Linked DNA regions of Homo sapiens: regions 1, 2 and 3 are each linked to region 4. Evidence: promoter capture Hi-C in 16 types of primary human blood cells and fetal thymus (Javierre and others, 2016). All regions are on one chromosome and are shown on one strand. Each heading gives the region's core, a stretch centred on a gene start or on the middle of the fragment in contact. The rest is flanking DNA. Distances are from core to core; before and after follow the strand shown. Region 1 has its middle 75 kb from the start of RANBP6. Region 2 has its middle 91 kb from the start of RANBP6. Region 3 overlaps GLDC (glycine decarboxylase). Region 4 holds the start of TPD52L3 (TPD52 like 3).

The links. Contacts are between HindIII fragments. The CHiCAGO score rates a contact against its expected background, and 5 or more counts as called.
Region 1: a fragment that was not itself captured here is called in contact with the fragment with the promoter of TPD52L3 in region 4 in 1 of 17 cell types (endothelial precursors); the score reaches 5.5 in endothelial precursors.
Region 2: a fragment that was not itself captured here is called in contact with the fragment with the promoter of TPD52L3 in region 4 in 1 of 17 cell types (endothelial precursors); the score reaches 5.4 in endothelial precursors.
Region 3: a fragment that was not itself captured here is called in contact with the fragment with the promoter of TPD52L3 in region 4 in 1 of 17 cell types (endothelial precursors); the score reaches 9.2 in endothelial precursors.

Annotation. Positions count from the first base shown.
Region 1 is chr9:6,088,655-6,092,203 of GRCh38, reverse strand. No RefSeq gene overlaps it. Among named protein-coding and RNA genes, the nearest start is that of RANBP6, 75 kb to the right of the region's middle. The HindIII fragment of the contact is 3,277 bases long and covers 20-3,296 here.
Region 2 is chr9:6,104,713-6,108,546 of GRCh38, reverse strand. No RefSeq gene overlaps it. Among named protein-coding and RNA genes, the nearest start is that of RANBP6, 91 kb to the right of the region's middle. RefSeq lists enhancers at 1,036-1,536, 1,739-1,788, 1,537-2,037. The HindIII fragment of the contact is 1,256 bases long and covers 643-1,898 here.
Region 3 is chr9:6,576,648-6,580,418 of GRCh38, reverse strand. The region is part of intron 15 of GLDC (glycine decarboxylase); the gene reads left to right. Among named protein-coding and RNA genes, the nearest start is that of GLDC, 67 kb to the left of the region's middle. The HindIII fragment of the contact is 2,965 bases long and covers 59-3,023 here.
Region 4 is chr9:6,326,445-6,330,006 of GRCh38, reverse strand. TPD52L3 (TPD52 like 3) reads right to left here and starts at 1,632. Exons shown (of 2, transcript NM_001001874.3): 1 at 1,045-1,632. The coding sequence starts at 1,411. LOC107987046 (a long non-coding RNA gene) reads left to right here and starts at 1,739. Exons shown (of 3, transcript XR_001746614.2): 1 at 1,739-1,806. The HindIII fragment of the contact is 1,804 bases long and covers 1,090-2,893 here.

The DNA.
Region 1 (3,549 bases), core at 409-2,908, 240 kb after region 4:
ATATTAAATTTTAGAAGCTTAAAAGAAGAGCCCTTTAGGGCACAGAAATCATATTAAAAGATTTGTACTTAAAAAAAGGCAAGCATTCTTTAATAATAACAAGTATTGGCATATAGTCCTACCACCTAGACAATCTCTGATGGTACACTAGTGATTAAAAATGATATATTCATGGTTTAAAATTGTTTAAAAATTCAAACTATGTAGGTTGGCATAAAATGAAAATTAATGCATCCTTATCAAAACTTTAGATTAAAAGAACTTAAGAAACATATCAACAAACAATAAAGTGTATGGATTTAGTTTCAAGCAAAGCAACTATTAAAATTATGACCAATGAGTCATGCCTGTAACCCCAGCACTTTGAGAGGCCAAGGCAGGAGGATCACTTGAGCTCAGGAGTTCAAGACCAGCCTGGGCAACATAGTGACCTCATCTCTACAAAATAAAACAAAACAAAGCCAGGCATGGTGATGTGCACCTGCAGTCCCAGCTACTCAGGACACTGAGGCTGCAATGAGCCATGCTCATACCACTGCACTATAGCCCAGGCAACAGAGCAAGACCCATTTCAAAAACAAAAAAAGCAAACAAAAAATATTTATGATATATCTGAAAAATTTTGAGCACTGCAATTGGAAATTGATAATATTCAGGAAATGGTACTCATTTTTAGATGTGACATATTTCAGTTGTGTTTTGTTTTGTTTGTTTGTTTGTTTGTTTAGACAGAGTCTCTTTCTGTTCCCCAGGCTGGAGTGCAGCATTGCAATCATAGCTCACTGTAAACTTGAACTCCTGACCTCAAGCGATCCTCCCACCTGGGTCTCCCGAAGTTCTAGGATTACAGGTATGAGCCACCCTGGCCTGGTCTATTTTAGTTATAAATTTTTAAAAGAATCCTTATATCTAAGAGCTATACTGTCCAGTTGTGTAGCCCCTAGCCACACGTGACTGTTTACATTTAGATTTAAGTCAATTAAAATAGGAAAAACTTAAAAAGTTTAGTTCCTCAGCCACATCAGTCACATTTCCAGTGCTTGATTAGCCATGTATGGCTCGTAGATAGTATTGGAAAGTACATATATAGGATATTTTCATCATTGCAGAGAATCCTGTTGGACAACATTATCTTAGAGATATATACTGAAGTATTCCACTAATGAAATTCTGTAACACCTGAAAATTGCTTTAAAATAATAACAGTAGAACTAGAAGTAGAGTGAGTGAGGACATAAACAAAACAAGATTGACTACAAGTTAATCATTATTGAAGCTGGGTGATCATGAAGAAAGGAATTATCTATTCTCCCTACTTATGTGTATGTTTAGAATTTTTCATAACAGAAGGTCACCACACCCTCTGCCTTTTAAGGAAAGTATCCACATCCTCTGCCTCAACCACTCTAGGCTCTGAGTATTTCTCCCTGTAGGCATTTTCTTTGGAATCCTTAGAAAAATAATTAAAATCATCTACATGTGCATATGACAGCTGTCTTTGTCTGTTTGTATTGTGATAACAACACAACAGACTTTATAAATTACCCTGAAGCTGGTAATTTATAAAGAAAAGAGGTTTATTTGGCTCATGGTTCTGCAGGCTATACAAGAACCATGGCACCAGCATCTGCTTCTGATGAGAGCCTCAGGCCCCCTTCATTTGTGGCAGAAGGCAGAGTGAAGCTGGTGTATGCAGAGGTCACATGGTGAAGAAGATGCAAGAGAGAGAGCTGGGAGGTGCCAGGCTATTTTTAACAACCAGCACTTGCAGGAACTAGCACAGTGTGAACTCACTCATTACAAAGAGGATGGCACCAAGACATTTATGAGGGATCTGCTCCCATGACCCAAACATCTCCCACTAGACCCCACTCCCAACACTGGGCTTCAACATTCAATATGAGATTTGGAGGGGGGCAAACAAATGAAACTATAGCAACAACATTTCATATACTTTGTAAATTTGCCTAGGAAGATAATACAATACATGCTATTCAGTTATTTGCATTTTTATCAAATATTCAGCACATGCAAATCTGCCTCCTTCTTTCTAAAGGCTACTCAGTGTTACATTGTATAGGTGTATCATAATTTACTTAAATAGCCACCTGTGGATGGATGCAGCGTAGTGAATGCATTTGGGAAGATCCTAGATTAGGTGAGAAAGACCTGTGAATTACCTACATGAGAGAGATGGATCAGATTAAAGTAATTCAGTGAAATAGAGAGAAGAGCTCAGATTGAAAAAAACATTAAAGAAGTAAAATCAAGAGAACTTGGTGATTTCTTATAAATGAAGAATGAGGGAGAAGAAGAGGGAGAGGACTCTTGGTTTTTTGGCTTGAACAAATAGTGATGCCAGTCTCTAAAGAGAGAAATGAAATCACCCTCACAGGAAGGGAAAGCTGATGAGCTTTGTTTTAGACATGTTGAGATTCAGGTGCCTATAAGTCCTCCCAGCGGAGATGTGGGGTAAACAGTTGGCTATATGCATCTAAGGTCAGAAGAGGGTGGAGAAATTGAAGTAGAGGTCATCAGCATATACAAGGTGATGGAAACCAGAGGAGTGAATGAAACTACCTCTAATTTTCTGGTTCTCACCTCCCTACTCAAAGTGTATGATAAGGCTCCTCCAACTCTCAATCTCCCAGGCCTATGCACATACACAGATGGAATGGTTCTACAGCCAACCCCATGATTCACTGTTTTATGACATCCAGTTCTCACATATGCATTATTCATGAACACAGAGAGAGTGACATGATAAGATCTGTGTTATGTGATGGAAAAGTGAAAGCTGGGAAGCTATGAATTATTTTTCTAGTCATCTATATGAATAACAATGAAGGCTTAATCTGGGCAGGGAAATGGGCACGAATATGAGGTAATAGATTTGGGAAATATTTGTGCTAATAACTATTAAAAGTTGTAAGGTACATAGGCCCACTAAGATCATCTTAAGTGGTACATTATAAAGATGAATGAGAAAATGAGAAATGTGAAACTATCTACATATTTTCAGCAGGTTTCAAAGAGATATGGATCATCATCAAGGTATCACACAACTCATACCACCTGATATTGTTTCAACTTATTCATGATTTTCTGCTTATTCATGACTTTGCTACCTGATGGCTTTGACTTTTATAGTGTTTTCTGCATTGCTGTCTGTTTCTGTGTTTCTCTACCATTTGTGTACTTCTCTGTATGTCTCACATTCAAATTCCGCAAGAGACAGTATAATTGGTTGAAGAAATCGTTAGCCAGCGTGGGGTAGCCTTGTGAAGAAGAAAGCTTTTACGCCTCCTCATGGGTTGCCTCTAAGTCACATTTTGTTTTTTCTTCAGTGGAGCTTTTATGTATTAATACAAATATGCAATCCCCTGAATTTCAAAAGAAAAGCTTTATTTTTATATTATGTATTTCATTTATATTTTTATTTTTGTATTTAGGTTGTTGCCAGGTGAGGCTGGTAGTGTCTAACTCCTAAAAAGCCTCACAAGCTGTGAAGAATTTCTCATAGTCTTTTCTTCAATCTTGTAGTCTAAG
Region 2 (3,834 bases), core at 21-2,520, 220 kb after region 4:
CCCACTTGGGAGACTTACGAGGAAGATTAAATCATATATATAGTGCTCATCATAATCCTAGTTCATAGTAAGCTCTTAATAATTACAGATTATTACAATTACTGTAACTGTAAAACCCATGCAAATTTATGAATATCAAGATTGTTCACCTGGGCTTGGAGGCCCATGCCTGCAATCCTAGCACTTTGGCAGGAGGATTGCTTGAGCCCAGGATTTCAAGACCAGCCTAGGGAACTTGGCAAGACCCCATCTCTACAAAACATTTTTAAAAATTAGCCAGGTGTGGTGGCTGTAGTCCCAGCTACTCAAGAGGCTGAGGTGGGAGGATCAATTAAGCCCAGGTGATTTGAGTCTGCCGTGAGCTGTATTTACACCACTGCACTCCAGCCTGGGTGCCAGAGCAAGACCGTGTCTCAAAAGAGGCCGAGCATGGTGGCTCACGCCTGTAATCCCAGCACTTTGGGAGGCCGAGGTGGGCAGATCACGAGGTCAGGAGATCGAGACCATCCTGGCTAACATGGTGAAATCCCGTCTCTACTAAAAGTACAAAAAAAATTAGCTGGGCATGGTGGCAGGCTCCTGTAGTCCCAGCTACTTGGGAGGCTGAGGAAGGAAAATGGCGTGAACCCGGGAGGCAAAGCTTGCAGTAAACCGAGATCACGCCACTGCACTCCAGCCTGGGTGACAGAGCGACACTCTGTCTCAAAAATAAATAAATAAAAACAAAAGAAAGTTTTTTTAAAAACAAAAATAAGAAATATTAATTTATTTCTGTCCCTCAGTATTTGCATTTTAACAATGGGTTTTTCAAAAAAGCAAAATCATCCATGTAAGAACTACTCGTTACTCTGAGATTATGTTCTTCCTGAGTTTTGGTGGTTGAAATATTCTTTCTTTAATGAAATGCTACTGGGTACTTAATGCTATCACTAGACAAAATAAAAAGCAATCAACTCTAAGTCAGTTGCCACAAATAGAAAATTTTACCAGTCTGTGGAATACAAATGTCTTGGAGCCACTGGAGTCATGGCAAGGTGGAAAAGAAATGTTGGGTCACATTTCATCTTGTATCATCCTCCAAATACCATTACAATTTGGAACATTCTCTTAGCCTTGAATTAGGAGTTGGGAAGAAAAAGGAATGAGAGGATATCAATTCCTCAACGTGTCTTTCCTTTGCATTAGAGGTCTATTTTCAAACAAGTTTTACATTAAGTTATTGTCTCTCAGCTACCCTTCTCTATACACTTATGCAATTCAGGCCTGGGACTCAAAACATCATTTTTAGCTTTGCCAGCTGCTCCAGTTAGGCTCTGTCACTAGAGGGTGTTACAGAGGGAGACAGCCAGGCTGGAGGAGAGAGAAAGGACAGGTTCCTTTCAGTTTGTTCCCTATAGGCTTGTCAGCTTGTGGTTTCTGTAAGATCACTCCAGGAGTGCTTCTTCACCCATGCCGTTCCATAGCAGCAGCTGATTCCAATTTGCAGTTTTTGCAACTTTCGCAAAAACAGCTTCATCATGCCCCCACCTCATAGACACAAGTGAGCTATAAATAGTGCCCTGTCCTCAAAGGTTTCAGTGGCAGGCCCACAGGGCTGCTTATCCCAGCTCACAGCCAGCACAAGTTGTGGGGCCCTTTCTCAAAGTTTCTAACTTCTAATAAATCCAAGCACTTCCCTCTGCTATCCCCAGCCCCAGGAGTGGTAGCTGCTTCCTGCAGTTGCTATCTCCATGTTACTTTCATTGTTGTTTTTTTGTTTGTTTGTTTGTTAATTTAATCCTTTCAGTTACCTAGTTACCAACCATTCCTTAAAGTCTCTATGTTCAAGTAACTGGTGTAGCTTCTGTTTCCTGCTTGCACTCTGATAGAGTATATATAAATCTATTTTCAAGAAAGCTTTAATTTTTTCAAATTTGTATACTAAAGGGTTTATTTTAAGGCTTAAACAATAATTGTAGGGAAGTCTTCTAGACTACTCCAAAATAACCAATTAAAAAAATACAGCAACTTCCAGGGAACACTCAATTTATTTTGAAAATAACATTTTCAAAGTTATTCTTTGGGTGTTGAAAAGCAAATAAGTCCTATCCAACCCAAAAGAAACCTACTAGTTATTTTCCTCCAGGAAGAGAGAGAGAGAGAGAAGTTAATTTTTATTTGTATAAATTTAGGGAGTACAAGTACAATTTTGTTACATGGATATATTGAGTGGTGGTAAAGCCTGAATTTTTAGTGTATTCACTGCTAGAATAATATACATTTTACTCACTAAGTAATTTCTTACCCTATGCTTTCTTCCCACGTTCGGAATCTCCAATGTCTATCATTCCACACTGTATGTCCATGTGTACACGTTATTTATCTATTACTTAAAATTTTCTTTCTGCTTATCAGGAAGTATATTTTAAGCTGAAACATATAGGCACCAGCCTGATAAAATTTGGAGGGATGTTCATGTACACTAAAGTGTGTTTAGTCCAGAGAATTTTCTCTGCCCCAGAATTTACACACTTCATTCTCTGCTATGTTCTTATCATCACAAAGCATTTCTCTATTATTCAGTAGGCAGAAAAGTTCACACCAATGATGATCAAAGGCAGGAAATGGAGGCATAAAGGGCTAGGGCTAAAAACCAACTTTTATGAAGTACTTGCTCTGTTCCAGGTGCTATCTCATGTATCTTTTCTAGCAACCCAACATTGTAGGGATTGATATTCCCATCTCACAGATGAGCACAGTGGGACTTACAGGGATTAAATAACTTGTTCTGGGGTGTGGAATAAGCGTCAGAGCAGAGCCAGGATTCAAAACCAGCCCTGATACCTTCAAATTTTCTTATCTTTTTGATTTTTTATTTATTTTATTTTTTTTTAGAAAACACTACCTTGCATCCATAGGACCCATGAGCATAAAGGAAGGACATATGACTGCTTGCCTGTCAATTCTGGGAATGAAGTGAAATGCTGTGAACAGTTACATATTTGCTGCCTGTATTAGTCAGGGTTCTCTAGAGGGACAGAACTAATGGAATATATATATATATATATATATATAAAGGGGAGTTTATTAAGTATTAACTCATGCAGTCACAAGGTCCAACAATAGGCCATCTGTAGGCTGAGGAGAAAGGAGAGCCAGTCCCAGTTCCAAATCTGAAGAACTTGGAGTCTGATGTTTGAGGGCAGGAAGCATCCAGCATGGGAGAAAGATATAGCCTTGGGGGAGCTAGGTCAGTTTCTCTTTCCATATTTTTCTGCCTGCTTATATTCTAGCCACGCTGGCAGCTGATTAGATGGTGCCCACCCAGATTAAGGGTGGGTCTGCCTTTCCCAGCCCACCGACACAAACGTTAATCTCCTTTGGCAAAACCCTCACAGACACACTCAGGATCAATACTTTGTATCCTTCAATCCATTCAAGTTGACACTCAGTATTAACTACAACAGGCCCACACCTTGTCAACTTGAACCCTTACACATCTCCTGAGATCATACATAATCTTCAAATAAAGACAATAATAAAGTCATAATTATGCCTAACATAATACAACTATCCTTCATACAACCAGAAACACCCCAATCCCCAAACCAAATACTATTACATAAAGTTAATACTTAAATGCTGATGTGAAGTCAATAAATCTATGTCACATGATGAAGGAGAAAGGAAATAAAATGAATTTTTTTTTAGTACAAATGTATACTTGCACAAACATGTTTTTAACAAAAGAAGGAGGAAATACTCATGACAATTACAGTCCTCGTTTCTGCAGCTGGTCACGTGGTCATAGCTGATATTGATGACTACCTTCTTCTACTACCCATTCTGTATTCC
Region 3 (3,771 bases), core at 292-2,791, 250 kb before region 4:
CCTTGTTGGTTCCGAGGGGCGGAATCCCTGGTTCTGGGTGTCGTTAGAAGTCAAAGCTTTTTCTATTGCACATTCCCAGACTACATGACTTGCAACTGTGGACTCTGTTATAAGGTAACTCAACATTTTGTTATCAACAGAACAGGCCCAGTGTGGGCTGGTCCTGCAATTATAGAAGCAGAGAGCCTGCAAGAGTCAAGGAGCCCTAGGGTGAGGGTAAGAGTTCTTTGGGGCCTGAAGAGAACTTGGCTTATGGAGATCCACAAACCCTGAGACGAAAGGCAGTTGTCTGAAGGAATGTTCCTGGGTCGAAGGTCTCTCTGGCCTTCAGGGTGCTTCAGGGGAAATGAAGAGTGGGGCCAGGTCTTCCGTAGTTCTGAGACTGTGTGGATTCTAGCCTTTGTAGATGAGGAGATTCTCCCAGTGATGCTCCCACTGCCCCCAACAGAGGACTGACAGCTTGCAGACTGGTTCTGCTGCTGAAGATGTTGCAGCAACCTGAACTCAGCCCTAAGGGTGAATGGAGCCGTAGCCAGCAAAGGGAAAATTTTAGTTGCACACTTCACTGGACCCAGCAACAGAGAGGAAGCACAGGGAGAGTGCTCAGAACAGGTTGCCCGGGCAGCCAGCGTTATAGGCACTGGCGTGAGGCAAAGTCAGCTAGTTATAGCAATACAACTTCGATCTCAGAGCTGGCTGACATTCAGTATTAAGTAAAAAGGACATTCTGCAACTAAAACCATGAGTTTCAATTTTAAACAATCAGGACTGGGCACGGTGGCTCACAGTCCCAGCACTTTGGGAGGCTGAGATAGGAGGATCACGTAAGGCCAGGAGTTTGAGAACAGCCTGGGTGACATAGTAAGACCCCATCTACAAAAAAAATAATAAAATTATCAAATAAATAATCAGGATGGGATACTCTTGAAAACAAAATTAGTGACTTGGAAAGGTACTTGGAGGAAATATTCCAAAACAAAAACCCAAAATATACAGATTAAGGCTGTGAGGGAAAAGTTAAGGAACTCAGAAGACAGATTCAGAAGATTCAGCATTTGGGGATGAGAACATGGAAGAGTTAATTAATATTCATCTGAGGAAGTGAAAAAAAATTGTATAACCAAAATGATGGTAAAAAATGAAATGATTAAAGATAAAAGCTAGAATGAATGACCTAGAAGATAAAATAGTCACAAGGATTAATAAATACAAAAACTGATTATTTGAAAGATCCAGTGAAATCAGTTAACTCTTTTCTTGCCTAAGGAAAAAATATATATATACAAATAAGAAATGAGAAAGAACATACCCAGATATAGATAAGATCCAAAGAATTATAAAGGAATAGTATATGCTACCCTGTGTCAACAAATTTAAAAACATAGAGAAATAAATGATTTCTTAACAAACATTTAGGAACATAAGGGCATGTTGAAAACAGATTAACAGAGGCTGATCACATGGAGTGAAACTAGAAATAACAGAAAGATGAGCAAAATTCACAAATATGTGGAAATTAAATAACACCCTTATAAATAACCAGTGGAACAAAGAGGAATCACAAGGAGAACTGGAAAGTACTTTGAAGCCAGGTGCAGTAGCTCATGCTTGTAATTGCAGTACTTTGGGAGGCTGAGGCAGGAGGATCACTTGATCCCAGGAGTTCAAGACTAGCCTGGGCAACATAGCAAGACCTCATCTCTCCAAAAAAATTAGCCTAGCATGGTGGCAAGCACCTGTGGTCCCAGCTACTTTGGGGGCTGAGGTGGGAGGATCACTTGAGTCCAGGAGGTTGAGGCTGCAGTGAGCCATGATCACGCCACTGCACTCCAGCCTAGACAACAGAGTGAGACTCTGTTTCTAAGAGAAGAAAAAAAGAGAGGAAGTACTTTCCAACTAATTAAAATGAAGATACCGCATATCAAACATCACGGGCTGTAGCTAAAACAGTGCTAACAGGAAAGTTTATAGCTGTAAATAACTACATTAAAAAAGAAGAAAGAGCTGGGTGCCATGATTCATGCTTGTAATCCCAACACTTTGGGAGTCTGAGGTGGGAGGATCACTTGAGCTCAGGAGTTCAAGACCAGCCTCGGCAACATAGTGGGACCCTCTTTGTACAAATTAAAAAATTAGCCAGGTGTGGTGGCATGCATCTGTGGTCCCAGCTGCTTGGGAGGCTGAAGTGGGAGGATCACTTACACCCAGAGGTCTAGGCTGCAGTGAGCCATGTTCACACCATTGCACCCCAGCCTGTGACAGAGCAAGATCCTGTCTCGAAAAAAAAAGAAGCCTGGACCAGATAGTGAGACTTAGTCTCTACAAAAAATTAAAAAAGTAGCTGGGCACAGTGGCGTGTTTCTGTAGTCCCAGCTACTCGAGAGGCCGAGGCCAGAGGATTGCTTGAGCCCAGGAGGTTGAGGCTGCAGTGAACTGTGATGGTGCCGCTGCACTCCAGCCTGGTTGACCCTGTTTTAAAAAAGAAAAAAGAAGAAAGATCTTAAACCAACTTAATCTTCCACCCTAAAACAACAGAGAAAGAAGTACATTAAGCTCAAAGCAAGCAGAAGGAAGGAAAGAATCAGGATTCGAGCAAAAAAAAATCAATAACGTAGAGATGGGGAGCAGGAGAGGAGGGGAATTATAAGAAAATAAAATATAGTGAAATAAAATTTAGTACAACAGATGTTAGCTGCGTAAAACTGCGTGTGTGTGTGTGCACAGGGGCATAGGTGGAAAGATGTATGAAAGGATGGGACTCAAACAGTTGTCTCTAGGTGGTAGAATATCAGGTGATTTTACTTTTTGTCCTTATGTTTTTAGATTATTTAAAATTTTTAAAGCCTTGATCATATGTTATTTAGTCAATTCAAAAAAGATATTTTTATGGTGGAGAACATGCGTATTGTGAAACAACTAAATGCATAGTAAGTTGGTTATAGGCTCATTTGCACCTGGTTCTCCTGATCTCAGAGGGTTCCTCCATCAGCTGATGGATATGGGATAAGGTTGGCTTTGAAGCTTGCCCTGGGGCTGGAGGCAAAACATAACCACCTCCATCTGCCCTAGCGGCACCTCTATCCTAATAAATACAGTGAGGTAGTCTCCCAGGGCACCCAGTTCAAACTCTGCAGAATAGGATAATATTTAACATCAAGTGGACTCAGAATACAACTCTCTGGTTCTCAAATGACCAAGTAGCAGAATGAAATGTAACTTTCAGGCCTGCATCTGGATTTCTCTGCGTGTGGCGCTGCTGGCTCTGCCTCATCCTTGCTGCTGTGCCTTTCCGCGCTGTCTTCTCATCCAGGGCATTTCTGTGTTATGCGCACAGAAGGCTTTTGTTCTTTCTGCAGTCATTCCCTGCCCACATATATGCTGCAGCAGGGACCTTTCTCTTTGGTGAATTTTCTTTCTAAGAGAGAATTCATCAGCTCAAGGGAAAGGTTAGGATCTAGAAAATGTGAGGTTTTTAAGGCTCTGTTATGTGGCTTCCTACCAAGTCATGTTGTAGGTTTCTCTAGCAACAGAAAAGTGAATGAGATTTAATTCAGGAATAGACAGTCAATATGGATCATAAAAAGGTTTTATAAGTGCTATAGATTGAATGTTTGCATTCCTTCAAAATTCACCTGTTGAAATCCTAACTCCAGGCCAGACGCGGTGGTTCACGCCTGTAATCCCAGCACTTTGGGAGGCCGAGGCAGGCGGATCACCTGAGATCAGGAGTTTGAGACCAGCCTGGCCAACGTAGTGAAACTCCATCTCTGC
Region 4 (3,562 bases), core at 383-2,882:
GTGGTAACTAACTAGGAATTGCTGCCAGAGAGGCAATTTCTTCCTTTTAAGTGAAGTGCTGCTATGGCAAAGACATGCTGCTTCAAGGGTTAAACTTTAAAACACTCATTTTGATATATAAAGAAATTATAAACAAAGCACAAGGCAAAGTTGCAATTTCAGTTTGTGTTCAAAGTAGTAATAATTTCCTAAACTGACACTGTTGTTTTGCTTAGTCCAGACCTTTGAAAACAAACGAGTTTTACAAAAGCTATATTAGTAATGTAACAATTAGTGCACTACCACTATTTTCCCCTCTTTTTCTGAGTCTCAGAGAAGATGAAGTTTTCTTGATCATCTTTTTAAAATAAAAGTTGTAGGCCAGGTGAAGCTTTCAAGGTGACTTTGAGACTGAGGGAAGGAAGGAAATGGGGAAGGGAAAACAAACAAACAAACCAAAAAAACACTACAGATTACTTCATACCTCTTTCAAGCTTAAACAGAACTCTACTTTGGCTTTCTAATAAGCTAGTTTTCCAAAAGAGAGTTTGGGCTTTGGCCTAAGACCCCTCTGGAGCCACTGACTTGCCCATTAGATACAGTCTCAGGAAAGCTAATATAATGGCACATTTCGTCTACAAACTTAAGTGAAAAATAACCAGGTACAAAACTTTGGGTTCTCTATCTTAAAAGCAGCAAATATCTGTGTTCTTTTCTCAAAACTGGATTCTGTCAATTTCCTGAATTAACCACTTTACCATTGTGGTTTGCTTGCTTGTTTTTGTTGGGCAGAGTTGCAAATGTAATAAGGGAAGGGGGTCCTTGCACTGGTTTAGTACCAGGCAAGGTTACCAAGGGGGCTCATTCTGGTTCCAGAAAGTGGAGATGGTCATCCTCACTCTCCAGAACTGGGAGTGGCTCATTCCCACTCCCCGGAATCTGGAGTGGGTCTTCCCCACACCCCAAAACTGAGAGCAGATCAACCCCACCCTCCGCAGAAGAAAGACAGTCAGGGCCAAGCTCTTTTGCCCCCTGAGACTTTGGACTTGATTGTCCCCATCAGACCTTCAAAAGATCTGAATGTGGCCGACTTCTTCACGCCTCCAAGCTTCCTGCAGATGAGAGTGCCCATGGTGGACAGAGCAGCTGATGTCTTCTGTTTCACATAGGTGTTGGAGACCTGAACATCAAGCCAGCTCTTGGACAGATTCTGTCTCAGCCCTACCAAGGCGGTGAGGCCTAACTTCCTCTTGAGTTCCCCACAGCGTCTCTCTTTGGCTGCTAGTACGTGGCGTAGGGTTACAATTTCAGCCTCCAATTTAGTGAGTTTGGTTTTGAGCTCTCTTTGCTCGGGCTCTGTCAGATCCTCCAGTTCAGAAGTCGAGTGGGATTCATATGTGCCCACAGAGGTCTCTGTCCTGGCATGTGGCATGGACTGGGAAAGAAGATCTTCGTTAAGAGAGTCCAGGTCCAATTCTTGGTAGAAAGAGTCGAATTATTGGGCTGCAGAGAAATAATCTTGGCCAGCAGAGTCGAAATCTAGGCCTGCAGGCTCAGACTCTTGGCAGGTGGAGTCAGATTTCAGGCGGGAGGGATCCATGGCCCAGCTGGTACAATGGACACCTTGACAGTTGAGTTGACGACCTGGCCTGTGAAGTAGACACGCTAGCTCGTGGTGTTCACTTCCGGGTGGTGGGGGTGGGGAGCCGGGCTGGTCAGGGTTGCGGAGGTGGGACTTCCCGCCCAAACCGCGAGGCTGTAGAATCAGTGCTCAGCTGAGGCGCAACCCACACTGGCGGCATTTTGGCATTGCGAGGACCTCCTGAGGTAGGCAGTGCAGAGATTATTGTCGAAAAGAGAGGAATTTCTCCTGACATGGTAAATGACAAGCCCTGGCCTTCAAACCAAAGCGTCAGGCAACTGTTTTCCACCACACCAGCTCCAACACTTGAAAATCATTTAAACATCATTGTGCTAGTATGAATTTTCAGTTTTGCAGTTGCATTTTCTTTATTCCGCCCTACCTCCACTCACATTTCTGGAAGCATGTCTGCCTACATTCAAGGTTACCTGTTGTGGGAGGTAGTCTGCACAGTAAAGTAAAACTAGTTAAATAGGATCTATCAGAGTGTGGATCCACTCTCCCCTGCCAACCTGCCACCCCAACCTCCCCCCAACCGTAATTCTGCCGAGAGTAAACTTATGCAATGGAAAAATCAGGACGTTAATCCAGTGAGGTCTTGTGGTCGAGCTTCACTTAGCTCATTCTATGGCTGCCTATTCTCAGAGAATATTCTTGAGCAAGTCTTAGACTCTAGTGATTTTGTTGGATATTCTTGTAATTCTTGCGAGCATGATCTTGTGGAACATAATTTGATCCTCAGCAAATTTCAGCAGTTTGCCCTACTCATGCCTATGTGGCTACAATGAAGCATCCAGCTGTGCATTCAAACCAACTTCAGCCCTCCTTTGAGTTTATGTTCTATAACCCTTTCACATAATTTAGTAGTGTTTATTATTGCCTTGTCCTGAGTGGTGTGTTTCCCTAAGTTAAAAAGTGAGAATTGTTCTTGTAAACATGAAGGCTGATGGAGGATTTGGCTATGTGTTTAAAGGCCTGAAAAGGGCAGCAAGGACTCCCTAAAAACCAATTTGTTCCAGAGGGTAGACTTTTCCTCTATTGCCTGTAGAAACACTAGTGGTTTCAGGAACACTCCCAGACTCTGAATCAGAACTCCTCTTTCAAACCTGAGACTAAAGGGTAAAGAAATCCCTGAATTATGCTACATAATATAGAACACACATTGTCTCTTCAAAGTTGAGACTCCAAATCACCAAATCTGAACTTGCACTTGATTTTACTTCTCTGTATTATTTCAACCACCAACCTTGATGCCTATTTTCTTTATAAGCTTCCTCATCCTTCAGTGTATACTATGAAATCTTTTATTAAGCCTTGATTCCTTTTGACAGAGAATGGTTTTTTTTCTCATAGCAAAACTGAGCTTTTCAGACACTTAGTTGCCAGATCCCACATCAAGACATACCCTGTCATTCAAATAGGAAAATAAGAAGTCAAATTATTTCTTTTTCAGATGATATGATTCCATATCCAGAAAACCCGAAAGGCTCCACCAAAAGGCTCCTGGAACTGATAAATGACTTCAGTAAAGTTTCAGGATATAAATTCAGTATCATTTCTATATATCAATAATGTGGCCGGGCGCGGTGGCTCACACCTGTAATCCCAGCACTTTGGGAGGCTGAGGCGGGCGGATCACGAGGTCAGGAGATCGAGACCATCCCGGCTAAAACGGTGAAACCCCGTCTCTACTAAAAATACAAAAAATTAGCCGGGCGTAGTGGCGGGCGCCTGTAGTCCCAGCTACTTGGGAGGCTGAGGCAGGAGAATGGCGTGAACCCGGGAGACGGAGCTTGCAGTGAGCCGAGATCCCGCCACTGCACTCCAGCCTGGGCGACAGAGCGAGACTCCGTCTCAAAAAAAAAAAAAAAAAAAAAAAAAAAAAAAAAAAAAAATAGACAAAAGACATGAACAGACACTTTTCAGAAGAAGACATACAAG